4 separate regions of the Homo sapiens genome follow, and all the other regions are linked to region 2. The links are contacts of gene promoters, found by promoter capture Hi-C in human tissues and cell types (Jung and others, 2019). All regions are on one chromosome and are shown on one strand. Each heading gives the region's core, a stretch centred on a gene start or on the middle of the fragment in contact. The rest is flanking DNA. Distances are from core to core; before and after follow the strand shown. Region 1 has its middle 50 kb from the start of SYT10. Region 2 holds the start of PKP2 (plakophilin 2). Region 3 overlaps SYT10 (synaptotagmin 10). Region 4 has its middle 130 kb from the start of SYT10.

Evidence for each region. Contacts are between HindIII fragments. The study calls those that stand out against the background at their distance.
Region 1: a fragment that was not itself captured here is called in contact with the fragment with the promoter of PKP2 in region 2 in 2 of the 25 tissues and cell types used here (mesenchymal stem cells and stomach).
Region 3: a fragment that was not itself captured here is called in contact with the fragment with the promoter of PKP2 in region 2 in 3 of the 25 tissues and cell types used here (dorsolateral prefrontal cortex, mesenchymal stem cells and neural progenitor cells).
Region 4: a contact is called between a fragment that was not itself captured here and the fragment with the promoter of PKP2 in region 2, in 1 of the 25 tissues and cell types used here (spleen).

The regions. Positions count from the first base shown.
Region 1 is chr12:33,487,754-33,491,267 of GRCh38, reverse strand. No RefSeq gene overlaps it. Among named protein-coding and RNA genes, the nearest start is that of SYT10, 50 kb to the right of the region's middle. The HindIII fragment of the contact is 3,024 bases long and covers 360-3,383 here.
Region 2 is chr12:32,894,899-32,898,036 of GRCh38, reverse strand. It overlaps PKP2 (plakophilin 2), which reads left to right and starts at 1,260. Exons shown (of 13, transcript NM_001005242.3): 1 at 1,260-1,528. The coding sequence starts at 1,306. RefSeq lists silencers at 852-951, 1,152-1,261. The HindIII fragment of the contact is 8,511 bases long and covers 1-3,138 here.
Region 3 is chr12:33,433,375-33,436,443 of GRCh38, reverse strand. All of the region lies in intron 1 of SYT10 (synaptotagmin 10), which reads left to right. Among named protein-coding and RNA genes, the nearest start is that of SYT10, 4.9 kb to the left of the region's middle. The HindIII fragment of the contact is 3,485 bases long and covers 1-3,039 here.
Region 4 is chr12:33,568,530-33,571,876 of GRCh38, reverse strand. No RefSeq gene overlaps it. Among named protein-coding and RNA genes, the nearest start is that of SYT10, 130 kb to the right of the region's middle. The HindIII fragment of the contact is 6,824 bases long and covers 1-3,347 here.

The DNA of each region.
Region 1 (3,514 bases), core at 622-3,121, 590 kb before region 2:
GCTGCCAGATGTATTGGAGCTCCATTATATGTTATTTGTTTCTTTTATCTTGCTGTTTTTAGGATCCTTTCTTTAGCCTTGACCTTTGGGTGTTTGATTACTAAATGTCTTGAGGTAGTCTTATTTGGGTTATATCTGCTTGGTGTTACAATATAACCTTCTTGTACTTAAATATGGACATCTTTCTCTAGGTTTAGAAAGTTCTCATTATTATGCCTTTGAATAAACATTCAACCCTAATCTCTCCTTTCTACCTCCTCTTTAAGGCCAATAACTCTTAGATTTGCCCTTTGGGGGTTATTTTCTAATCTTGTAAGTGTGCTTCACTCTTTTTTTATTCTTTTTTTGGTCTCCTGTGACCTTATTTTTAATACCTGTATTCAGGCTCACTAATTCTTTCTTCTGCTCGATCAATTATGCTGTTGAGACTCTGATGCATTCCTCAGTTTATTAACTGAATTTTTCACCTCAAGAATTTCTGCTTGATTCTTTTTAATCATCTCAATAGCCTTATTAAATTTATCTAATAAGATTCGGAATTCCTTCTCTGTGTTGGATTTTATTGAGCTTCTTCAAAACAGCTATTTTGAATTCTCTGTCTGAAAGGTCACATATCTCTGTCACTCCAAAACTGGTCATTGTTGCCTTATTTAGTTCACTTGATAAGGTCATGTTTTCCTGGATAGTCTTGGTGATTATCATTGTTTATTGATATCTGGGCACTGAAGAGTTAGAAATTTATTCTAATCTTCATAGTCTTGACTTGTCTGTACCAGTCCTTCTTGAGAAGGCTTTCCAAGTGTTCAAAGGGAATTGATTGTTGTGGTCTAAGTCTTTAGTCACTGCAGCCATATGTGCATTAGGGCATAACCCAAGCCCAGTAATACTGTGACTCTTGTAGACTCATAGAGGTACCACTTTGGTGGTCTCAGGCAAGAGCTAGGAGAATTCCTGGATTCCCATGCATTGCCTCTTCTTCTCTTCCCTTACTTCCCCTCAAACAAATAGTGTCTCTCATTCTCCATGCTCAGTTGCCTGTAGTTGGAGGAGGGAAAATACAAGCACTCCCATGGCCATCACCACTAAGACTGTACTCGGTCACACCTCAAGGCAGCACAGTACTGGGTCTCACTCAAGGCCTGTGACAACTACAATATGGCTACCACTGAAGTTTATTAAAGACCCATATGCTCTTTAGTCAGAAGGTGATGAGTCCTGCCAGGCCTGGGTCTCTCCCTTTAGGGCTGGTTCTCTTCTGACCCAAGTTAGATCTAGAAATCCCCTCCAGGAGCTATGGCATATCATCAGGGACTTTAGGAGTCTGCTTGGTGCTTTATTGTACTGTCCTGAGCTGGCACCCAAGTTGCAAGACAAAGTCTTTTTTACCCTTCCCACTCCTTTCCTCAAAAAGAAAGAGTATGTCCCTGTGGCTACCAGAGCTGAAAATGTGCTGGATTAGATCTGAATCTAGCACAATACTGAATCTTGTCCAACATCCATGGCAACCGCTTTCTGACTACTGCTGATATTTATTCCAGGATCAAGGGTTCTCTAGTCAGCGGGTGGTAAATTTTGCCAGGACTGAATCCTTCCCCTCAGGGCCAGGGAATTCTGGCCCAAGGTGGGCCTAGAAAGGTCATCCAGGAGCTGTGCCTGGAATAGGGGCCTCAGGACTCTCCTTGGTCCCTTATTTTATTGTGGCTGAGCTGGTATCCAAATTGCAAGACAAAGTCCTCTTTATGCTTCCCTCTCCTCCTGGAGCTGCAAGCTGTGCTACCTGAAGTTGAGGGATGGGTGACACAAGCACTCCCTTGGCTATCACAATTGGTGCCTCAGTGGGTCATATGCAGGCCAAGTCTACTATTTTCAGGCCCAGAACAGTACCAGGACTTGCCCAGGAATTGCCATCCTTGTGGCCTAGGCTGCCTTTCAAGTTTATTTAGAACCCCAGAGCACTTTAGCCGGTGGTGGTGGAGCTAGCCAAAACTTAGGTTCTGACTGCTGGAATGGAAGATTTCCCTCTGGCTATACCTGGTCTAAATGCTCCTTCTGTGGATGCCATCCAAATTCTGCCCTGTATTGCTTTCTGCTGTGACAAGGCAGCATGGAGTTCCAATGCAAAGTCTCACAATCACTGTGCTCTCTCTCCGGTAAATACATAGATTCTCTCTCTGCACTGCAGAGTTGCTGCCAGCGGTTAAGGGAAGGTTTGTGTAGGTGATTCAAGACTGTCTTTCCTACCCTCTTTGGTGCCTCTTTCCTTAATATGATGTGAAAATCAGGTAATGTGATTGCTCTCCTGACTTTTGGTTCTTATGCAGATGCTTTCTTGTGTGGATAGTTGTTTAATTTGGTGTTTCTCTGGCAGGTGGGGGACAATTGCTGAAAATTCTATTTAGCCATCTTGCTCCACCTCCCTCCCATACTTTTCTCTTTGATTTGTTAATGTGGGGAATTACAATAATATGTTGTTTTTCATAATGTTAAATCATTCTTCCATTCCTAAAGTAAATTTAACTTGGTACAGTTGAGTTTTCCTTTTCACTTATTACTGGTTTGTTTATATTTTCCTTTGGATAATTGGACCTACCGTAATGATTAATTTTAGCCTACAATTTTTACATGTCATGCTCTCTGTATATGGTTTTGCTGGCAAGGTTATACTGAATTTGTAAAATAATATGAGAGTATTTTCACTTTTTAAAATATCCAGAATATATAGTAATTTTTGAATTAAATAGTGTATTTTTTAGTTTCTTGATTTTTTGGTCTTCCTTTAAATAGTGTGAAACTTTATCAGTCAGTTAAGCTTGATCCTTTTGTTTGTTTTTCACTTTGCTAGAGAGAGACTAGTGCTGCCTTTTCTCTGACATCAGTTTAGTCTTACTGCAAGGCTGGGCCCTTCTGGGACCAAGGTTCAGAAAGTGCCTTCAGACAGAAACATAAAGTATTCTTTGCAACTCACCTCATTACTATTTTCTCTCAGGGAGAATAGTCCTTTGATGCCTGTTGCCTAATGTCTGAAAATCACTGTTTGATGTACAGTCATGCATTGCTTAGTAATGAGGATATGTTCTGAGAAATGTGTTGTCTGGTGATTTTTCTTGTTTGAGCATTATCAGGTGTACTTACACAAACCTAGACAGTCTAGCCTACTACACGTCTAAGCTATATGATGTAACTTATTGCTCCTAGGCTACAAACCCATAAAGCATGTCACTGTACTAAATACTGTAGGCAATTGTAACACAATGTCAAGTATTTGCATATCCAAACATATAAAGGTGCAATAAAAATACAATATTATAATCTCATGGGACCACTGTCATATATACAATCTGTCATTGACTGAAACATTATAATATAGCATGTGACTGCATTTTGTTTTATTTTCCAGTTTTTATTTTTATTTTTATTTTTTGCAATAGGAAGGCAAGTCTAGTACCAGCTATTCGGACATGCCAAAAGTTGAAATTTCCTGTTTCATTAAATTTTATGTTTATATTTTCCTTTT
Region 2 (3,138 bases), core at 11-2,510:
AAACAAAGACGAGGGAAGCTGCGTTCTCCAAACACTTCAGACTTGAGTAAGTGGGGTTTTGCAGCAATTGAGTGATTTGAGGGAAAGTGAACATACAAACCCAAGCAATCAAAGGGAATATTATCTTAATACCAGGGATACATGTTTTTCTTTCTGCCTCTTAAGTCCAAAGAGGCAAATCAGGACAAGTGGCTTTGGTTGTAAACTTTAAGGTCAAGGATCCTTTCTGTTGAGCTTAGCTCTCAAGTTCTCAGTAGTCAACTGCGGTGAAACATAATTAATAGCACGATAAATACAAGTTGTGGAAGATTCGATTGAAAGTTGGAGGCCCTCTCCGTGGATCTCTCTACAAAGAGCCTGTAATAAAGAGGACTTAATCAACGTTAGCAGGGCTATTTAAAAAGCATCGTCTATTAAAATTCATTTCTTCTCTAGAGCCTCTTGTTGGAGTTTCTCTGTGTGGGTGTGTTCGTAAGAGAGGAATGGGTTAGCAAGAGTACTGGGTACAATTTGTGTATCCAAGAGAAAACAGAAGCTCTCAATGAGGAAGAACATATGTTTCTGGGACTGCATCTGTGCAAAAAGTACATAGTCCTGACGTTGTACTAAGAAAAAAAACACTCTCTTTAGAAAGTCTTTTATTTCACACGTTATCTTCTTGGCACATTTCCCTCATATTGCCCTTTCCGCCTGACCAAATAGCCCTTTCTCACCCTCAGGTCCAGGAAAACCAGGAAACGTTTCCAACAGTGCGACAAAGCCTGACTAACCAGACATACTACTCGCTCGGGGATCCCGGAGGCAAGCCTCAGTCCAAGAACAGGAGTGACTCTCGAGGGCTCACCTGCCTGCAGGGCAGCCCCTCCCTGCATCGAGCGGAAATCCATCCTGTCCAGCGCGGGGCGTGGGCAGAGCGGGGCGCGGCCCCGGCAGGCGGTATCCGCTGGGACTCCGACAACGTGCGCGACCCCAGGCGAACCGCGCCCCTCTCCCCACCTCCCCGCGGGCGGGTACAAGTCTCCAGGTGTCCGCGCGCTCAGCGGGTCCGGCCCGCCCCCGCCCCCGCCCCCGGGCCCGACTGCGCGTGCCCGGCCGGAGCCGCGCCCCCTCCTCAGGGAAGGCCGGGCGTCCGGCCCACGAGGCCGAGCTCCCCCCCGGCCCGGGCCTCTCACCGGCGCGGGGGGCGGGCCAGGGGCGGGGCCGGACTCGAGCGGGGCGGGGCTCGCGCCAGCGCCCCCAGCTCCGTGGCGGCTTCGCCCGCGAGTCCAGAGGCAGGCGAGCAGCTCGGTCGCCCCCACCGGCCCCATGGCAGCCCCCGGCGCCCCAGCTGAGTACGGCTACATCCGGACCGTCCTGGGCCAGCAGATCCTGGGACAACTGGACAGCTCCAGCCTGGCGCTGCCCTCCGAGGCCAAGCTGAAGCTGGCGGGGAGCAGCGGCCGCGGCGGCCAGACAGTCAAGAGCCTGCGGATCCAGGAGCAGGTGCAGCAGACCCTCGCCCGGAAGGGCCGCAGCTCCGTGGGCAACGGTGAGTGGAGCCCGCCGCTCCCCGGCGCCGCCCCCTGCCCCACACCCGGTCACCTCCTCCTATCCCGCCCTCACCCCGCGTGCTGGGAGTGCGGGACCCCGTGTTCTGCCCACCTGTTGCTCGCCGTCTTCGGTATGACCGACTTGCTTGTGGAAAGCACTCTTTTCCATAACCTATTACTCAGCTTTGTCATATAGGTACCTATGTATATTAAATATTGTACATATCTATCAATGTTAACTAACTCACTTCAAGATTTCACCCCTTTCTTTTTCTACTCCGCCGGTCCGCGCCCCTCACTGGTGCGGACTTAATTTGAAGGTTCAGGGAGTCTATAAACACCTTGAGATGCTATGCAGAATTTTTGGTGTGTACGATCTTTTTCTGGGAGAAGGAGCCCTTCAATTTTATTAGATTTGTTAAATAATTAATGACCCCCATAAATATCTTGGGGAAAAAAACCGACAGCACTGGCGCTCCTACAACCTATAAATTGGGATTGTGCTGTCTTATGCAAGTACTTCGGGGCGCTCCACCCTGTGTGGGAGGCGAGTGGTGGATCTAGGGAGTGAAGAAAAGTAGTTAGGAGGCTTTGGTCCAGGGAACAAACACGCCGAGGAGGAGGTAGGGGACTTTGGCCCTGCCGGCAACAGCCGTGCCCGCCTAGCTGCGCTTCCTACCCCCACCAGTGCGGGCGTGATGCAAGTCTGATCCCTCCAAAAAATTAAACCCGAAGGTGAAAGGGGTGTAAGCACACACATGCACACTATGTTCATGATTGATAGACGGGGGAGGTGGAAGGGAAAGAAGATGGCAAGCCACTTGTGAAAATTAGAGATCATGATGTATCCTTTTCTCCCCTGCTGAAGTCAGGTGATGGGATCAACTCAGTGACCCTTGTTTTACTTCTTGTTGCTGTGTATGTGAGTTTGCATTATAAAAGCACTATGTTGGCTTATAGCAAAAAGAAGAGGAAAGAAATTGAGCAATTAAGTTGGAATATCTGTTTCCTGCAACGTTCAGTTGTTTCTGTATGAAGTAACTTGGGCATTGGCGAATGTAGGCTAACCCATTCTAGTTTCTATTAGGAAAACAGAAAAATTCTAACAGGCCAGACCAGAGATTTCAAACAGCAGAGTCTGGGAGGCTGTACTGTGTGTGTAAAAGAATCCTAAAGGATGACGTAGTCAATATTAACATACTTGAAAGGTAAAGAGAAGATGTTCAATGATCGTAGTTAATATAACTGAGTGCATACTATGTGCCAAGAATTGGGCGATGTGGTTTGCATTCATTTGAGATATATATATATATATGTATTTAAAAACTTGTGAGTTAGGTATTTTCATCCTCATTTTACAGATGAGGAAACTAAGCAGTTAAGTAACACTGAAGCTCTAATAGATGGTAAGTGGCAGAGCTGGTATTTAAACTCCCAAACCTGAATTTTAAACTTATCAGTTTTATCATTAAGTTTTAAAATGATTAATACAAAGTGGGATTTGTTAGATGCTAAGCCTCTCCGTGGCCCCCTCCCATTTTTCTTTAAATAAAATTGAGGAAGTTCTGAAAGGCTGGGGAGGTCTAGAAAACACAGAACTGCTGCAATA
Region 3 (3,069 bases), core at 48-2,547, 540 kb before region 2:
TTATATGTGCCAGCATTACTAATATTCTAGAAAGTTCACCACGTGCACTTTTTAGAATATCAGATATTTTGAGTCTTTTTACCATGGATTCTCTCTTTCTCCCGAAATAGATATGTCACCCACTAAATTAATCTCAATGCACAATATGATTTAATATTAGAATGCTTAGGGAAAATACAAAGCAACATATTGGACCCAAAAGTTATTTTTCAGGCATACTGTGACTGAATATATATAATCGTTTTTAAACTGGATTTAGCTTAATTTCTGATTACTCCTTAATTGCTGCTCAAATGCTCATCAATTTCAAGGAACCTATGTTGCTTAAAAGGCAGACGTCATAAATCACAGCTAATCAATCCCACTTAAGCTCACAGTCACTTGAGCTCACATCACAATTGTATAGCTCTAAGCTTAATTTAAAGATTTTCATAAGCATTTCATTCATCAATGTTCTAATTTTGCATGTTTACACAATTTTAATTTGGGACTAAAAATTCTAAAATAAAAATTTAGACAAATTCTTCTAAATTCATACATATGTTCTTCAGTTTCTTAGAGGTAGGGATAAAAGTAGGTATATGGGAAATAATTTTATTAAAGTACTTAACTGACAAGAAAAGGGATAGTTAAGTAAAATTATAAGAATTACATCATAATTTCCCTCTAAGATCAAGGCATAGTGGGTCTATGATAAAGGTTTAAAATTAGTAGAGGGACTTCATAGTAGAGGGACAAAGCAAATGACTACCCAATTAATTGAGTTATCATTTTTTAATCACCATAACAGGGTTTTACACATCCTAGTGATTGTATAAAGAATTCCAATTCACAAACATATTATCAGTAGAATTTTTTCCTTGAGACTTGTAGGTCTATAAAAGAATAATGGAGCCACAGTGAATTCAGAATGATAGGCCTGTTTGAAGAAGAATATATAAGAGGATATTTTTCCTTCCTCCACATTGTCACTCCACTGAAGAGTGGCCAACTTCTACTATGTCTAGTCTCATTGTCACATGATCATCAATACACCTTGTGCTTGGTCTGATTTACTTCAAATGCAAATGGAGACCTATCTTCAAAGCCAAGAAGATCTCAGCAAACATTTATTCTTCTTAAATCCCAGTATGTTAGCAGTATTGGCAGGAATTTCTTTTTGCTTTAACCTTTTCTTTTTCCTTTGTGACAAATTAAAAGCTGTATTTCCTTTTTCTATGAACTGTGAGTCTCTGACATCTAATTCTTATGAATGATTTTGTATACCAAGCTCAAATCACATTTTTAAAAAAACAGTCATTACTGTAATACTGGCTTTTTGAAAAAATTGGTAATTGTTTGAGATGCATCTGCATTCATTTACAAGCTTTTTTAAATACAAAATTCTGGCAGAAGACAATCATTACCATAAATGTTTAATGTAATTTCCAATGCCAATGAAAATCATTTCTATTTTGAACATGTGATTATATTCTTCCCAATCTACATTTTATTCCACTAACGTTGTACACATTAAGTCAATAGCATGTCAGCTCTTTGAGGTCAGGGGCTTGTTTATTGTTTTATCTTCAGTGCCTTGAAAAATCTGTGGTTCATACTAGCTACTTTATTTATTTACTATTTTTATTTTATTTTTTTGAGATGGAGGTTCACTGTTGTTGCCCAGGCTGGAGTGCAATGGCGGGATCTCAGCTCATCACAACCTCCGCCTCCCAAGTTCAAGCGATTCTCCTGCCTCAGCCTCCCAAGTAGCTGGGATTACAGGCATGTGCCACCACGCCCAGCTAATTTTGTATTTTTAGTAGAGTCGGGGGTTTTCTCCATGTTGGCCGGGCTGGTCTCCAACTCCCGACCTCAGGTGATCCGCCCACTTCTGCATCCCAAAGTGCTGAGATTACAGGCGTGAGCTACTGCACCTGGCCCAATTAATATTTTTTAAATGAATGAATGAATCAAGGGATTTATTATCAAGAAGCTTCAACTTTATTATTTGTAAGATAATGAGTCTTACTTAATAACCTCCAAATCTCTTCTGCAACTAAATTGTATACATCTGTATTTTTGTGTCACCAGTATCTAATACAATATCCTATATAGACATACAAAATATCTAGTTTATGATAATAGCAGAAATTAGAGCACTTACAACATTAAAAAGCTAGAATTCAGTCAGCAATATACTCATGAAAAAGCAACTGAACTTGATATAGGTATCCATTGATTTTCTTCAGAGTGTGTTCAACTGGATCTGTAATTCCATGGCTAAATTTGTAAGTGTTGCATAAAGCACTGAGTCTACAAGTTCTAGAATCTCTGTTCAATATATTCATGTATGGCAGTAAAAGGAAAGCATGTTAGTGTGCTAAGTAGAAAGTGGCAGGAGAAAAGTAACTATCTCATGATTCAAATTGCTGTTAATCATTCCAGTTGAAAGTAGGAATCATCACTTTGCAGATGTGAAAACTAAGGCAAAGAAATTTAACCTCCCTTCAAATCATCACTAGTTAGTGATGGAGATAGGCTAAGAAACCAGGGCTTCTTAGATTTTAGCCTAGGTTTAACAAAGAGTAGGAATAGGAAGAGGAGATTCTGGGGGCGTCCTTGGCGCTGAAGGGCATTGGAAAAAATGTCTGTGAAGATAAGCTGTTAATATTATTACATTATTGGCTATAATTACTGGCCAATAAAATTTCTTAGTGTGCAATTATGACCCATATCTCAAACCTTTCTATTAGATTTTCTATCATCCAAATATAACAAGCAGTGTTTTTCATTTTTCTTACTTGACTATGCACACATGTGTACTTCAGTGTACACGAGTAGGTGTTTACATATTCTTGGCCAAATATAATTGATTTGTGTCAACTGTAAAATCACATAAAAGATTTTTAGTGTGTTTGAAATGCACGACTTTGAACGCATATAATCCTAAATATAGTTCCTTTCATATGTTTATAAATTAGTCTGTAGTGAAAACAGATATTAAATTACCAGTTACATTGTTTTTGTTAATTTGTAATTAGAAAAAATAATTCATTAAAATCTTGTGTGCTGTATTTTCCTACCATA
Region 4 (3,347 bases), core at 122-2,621, 670 kb before region 2:
CATCATAAGTTGGACTATCATCAGGAATACAGGATTGTCTGTATTTCTTTCTAAATATTAGAATACATACACCATGTGTATATGTATCATATATACATATTATATATATGTGTATATATATATATAATGCAAAGAAAGAAAAGCGTGCAGGATTTTATTCTTCCTTTATCTACTAAAAGCCCATAGACATTCCACTTATATATCACAAGATTTCAGCATTTCAGTATTATTCTCAATTCATTTGAGAAAACATCACTGAAATTCTGTATGCAGACAAGCAAACATGCTATGTTCTTCTAAATCTAATTACTCAAATCTTCATTAATACAAGTAAAGTAGCACAAAGGGAGCAGCAGTATTCAATTAAAATAATTATGAAGGCTAGAGCTCCCCTTGATAGAGCACAAACAATTATATATACAGGTTTTCTGTGCAATTAATACATATATCCCCATGGTAAACCTGAAAACCATAATACAAACTGCACAGAGCTGAACAACTCTAGGCACAAAATCTAACAACCTCTGATGTAAATAGGGCTTTTAAAATTTATTTTTATTTCAACAGGTTTTTGAGGACCAGGTAGTGTTGGGTTACATGAATTTCTCTAGTGGTGATTTCCAAGATTTTGGTGCATCCATCACCCAAGCAGTGTACACTGTACCCAATGTGTAGTCTTTTATCCCTCACCCCACTCCCACCCTTTCCTCCCAGTCCCCAAAGTTCATTTTATCATTCTTATGCCTTTGCATCCTCAAAGTTTTTCTCCCACTTATGAGTGAGAACATACGATGTTTGTTTCCCCATTCCTGGGTTACTTCACTTAGAATAATAGTCTCCAGTTCCAGCCAGGTTGAAGTGAATGCCATTATTTCGTTTCTTTTTATGGCTGGGTAGTATTTTATGCTATTTATATACCACATGTTCATTATCTACTCATTGCTTGATGGGCATTTGGGCTGGTTCCATATTTTTGCAATTGCAAACTGTGCTACTATAAACATGCTTATGCATGAATCTTTTCATATAATGACTTCTTTTCCTCTGGGTAGATATCCAGTAGTGGGAATGCTGGATCAAATGGTAGGTCTAATTTTAGTTCTTTAAGGAATCTCCACACTGTTTTCCATAGTGGTTGTACTAGTTTACATTCCCACCAACTTTGTAAAAGTGTTCTCATTTCATTACATCCATGTCATCTATTATTTTATGATGCTTTGATTATGATCATTCTTGCAGAACTGAGGTGGTATCACATTGTCGTTTTGATTTGCATTTCCCTGGTAATTAGTGATGTTGAGCATTTTTTCCATATGCTTCTTGGCCATGTGTATACCTTCTTTAGAGAATTGTCTATTCAAGTCCTTAGCCCACTTTTTGATGGGATTGTTAATTTTTTTCTCACTGATTTGTTTGAGTTATTTGTAGATTCTGCATATTAGTCCTTTGTTGGATGTATACATTGTGAAGATTTTCTCGCACTCTGTGCGGTGTCTGTTAATTCTGCTGATTATTTCTTTTGCTGTGCAGAAGCTTTTTAGTTTAATTAAGTCTCGTCTATTTATCTGTGTTTTTGTTGAATTTGCTTTTGAGTTCTTGGCTATAAAGTCTTTGCCTAAGCCAATGTCTAAAAGGATTTTCCCAATGTATCTTCTAGTATTTTTATGGTTTCAGGTCTTAGATTTAAGTTTTTAACTCATCTTGAGTTAATTTTTTGTAAAGTGCGATATGAGAACCCAGTTTCTTTCTTCTACATGTGGCTTGCCAATTATCCCAACACCGTTTATTGAATATGGTGTCCTTTCCCCACTTAGTGTTTTTGTTTGCTTTGTCAAAGACCAGTTGGCTGTATTTGGGCTTATTTCTGGGTTCTCTGTGCTGTTCCAGTGGTGTATGTGCCTATTTTTACACCAGTGTCATGCTGTTTTGGTGACTATGGCCTTTTAGTATAGTTTGAAGTCAGATAATGTGATGCCTCCGGATTTGTTCTTTTTGCTTAGTCTTGCTTTGGCTGTGAGTCTCTTTTTTGGTTCCATATGAATTTTAGGATTGTTTTTCCTAATTTTGTGAAAAATGATGGTGGTATTTTGATAGGAATTGCATGAATTTGTAGATTGCTTTTGGCAGTATGGTCATTTTCACAATATGGATACCACCCATCTGTGAGCATGTGACGTGTTTCCATTTCTTTGTGTCATCTGTGATTTCTTTCGGTAATGTTTTGTAGTTTTCCTCGTAGAGGTCTTTCACCTCCTTGGTTAGGTATATTCCTAAGTATTTTTTTTTTTTTGGCAGCTATTGGAAAAGGGATTGAGTTCTTGATTTTATTTTCAGCTGGTCACTGTTGTTGTATAGCAGAGCTACTGATTTGTGTAAGTTAATTTTGTATCTTGAAACTTTGCTGAAATTCATTTATCAGTTCTAGGAGCTTTCTGGGTGTCTTTAGGGTTTTCTAGGTAAGTGATCATATCATCAGTAAACAGCACCTGTTTGACTTCCTCTTTACCGATTTGGATGCCCTTGATTTCCTTCTCTTTTCTGACTGCTCTGGCTTGGACTTCCAGCACCATGTTGAATAGAAGTGTGAGAGTGGACATTCTTCTCTTGTTCCAGTTCTCAAGGGAAAATTTTCAACTTTTCCCCATTCGGTATTATGTTGGCTGTGGGTCTGTCACAGATGGCTTTTATTACATTAAGGTAATAATTCCACTTATATGAAAACTCTTTTTTAAAAAAATCAAACTCATAGAAACAGAGAGTAGAATGAGGTTGTCAGTGGCTGAGGGGTTAGGTAATTGGGGAGATGTTGTTAAAGGGTACAAACTTTCAGTTATAACATGAAAGTACAAACTTTCAGTTGTAAGTTCTGAGGGTCTACCGTACAGCATGGTGACTGTAGTTAATAATATTATATTCTATACTTGAAATTTGTTAAGGTAAAAGAGTAGATCTTCAGTGTTTTCACCAAAGGAAACAAAACATAACTATGAGAAGTGATGGATGCATGGTCATCATTTCACAATGTATAGGTACATAAAATTATCACATTGTAAACTTTAAATATATGCAATTTAATTTATCAGTTATACTTCAATGAAGGTAAAAAAATTAAAATTTTTAATTACAAAAACACTGAGTAACTAGAAGAAGCAATAAAGACTGGAAATCAAAAATAGAGAAAATTAATAAAGCCTAATGTAAGTTTGAAAAAATAAAATCAATTGATCAAAAAAAGGAAAAGAAAAGTAGATTCCTAACATTAAGAATGAGTGTGTTCCTACATATATCACAGATACCAAACTATAACAAGAAAATACTATAAATGCCAATAAATTTAACAACTTAGA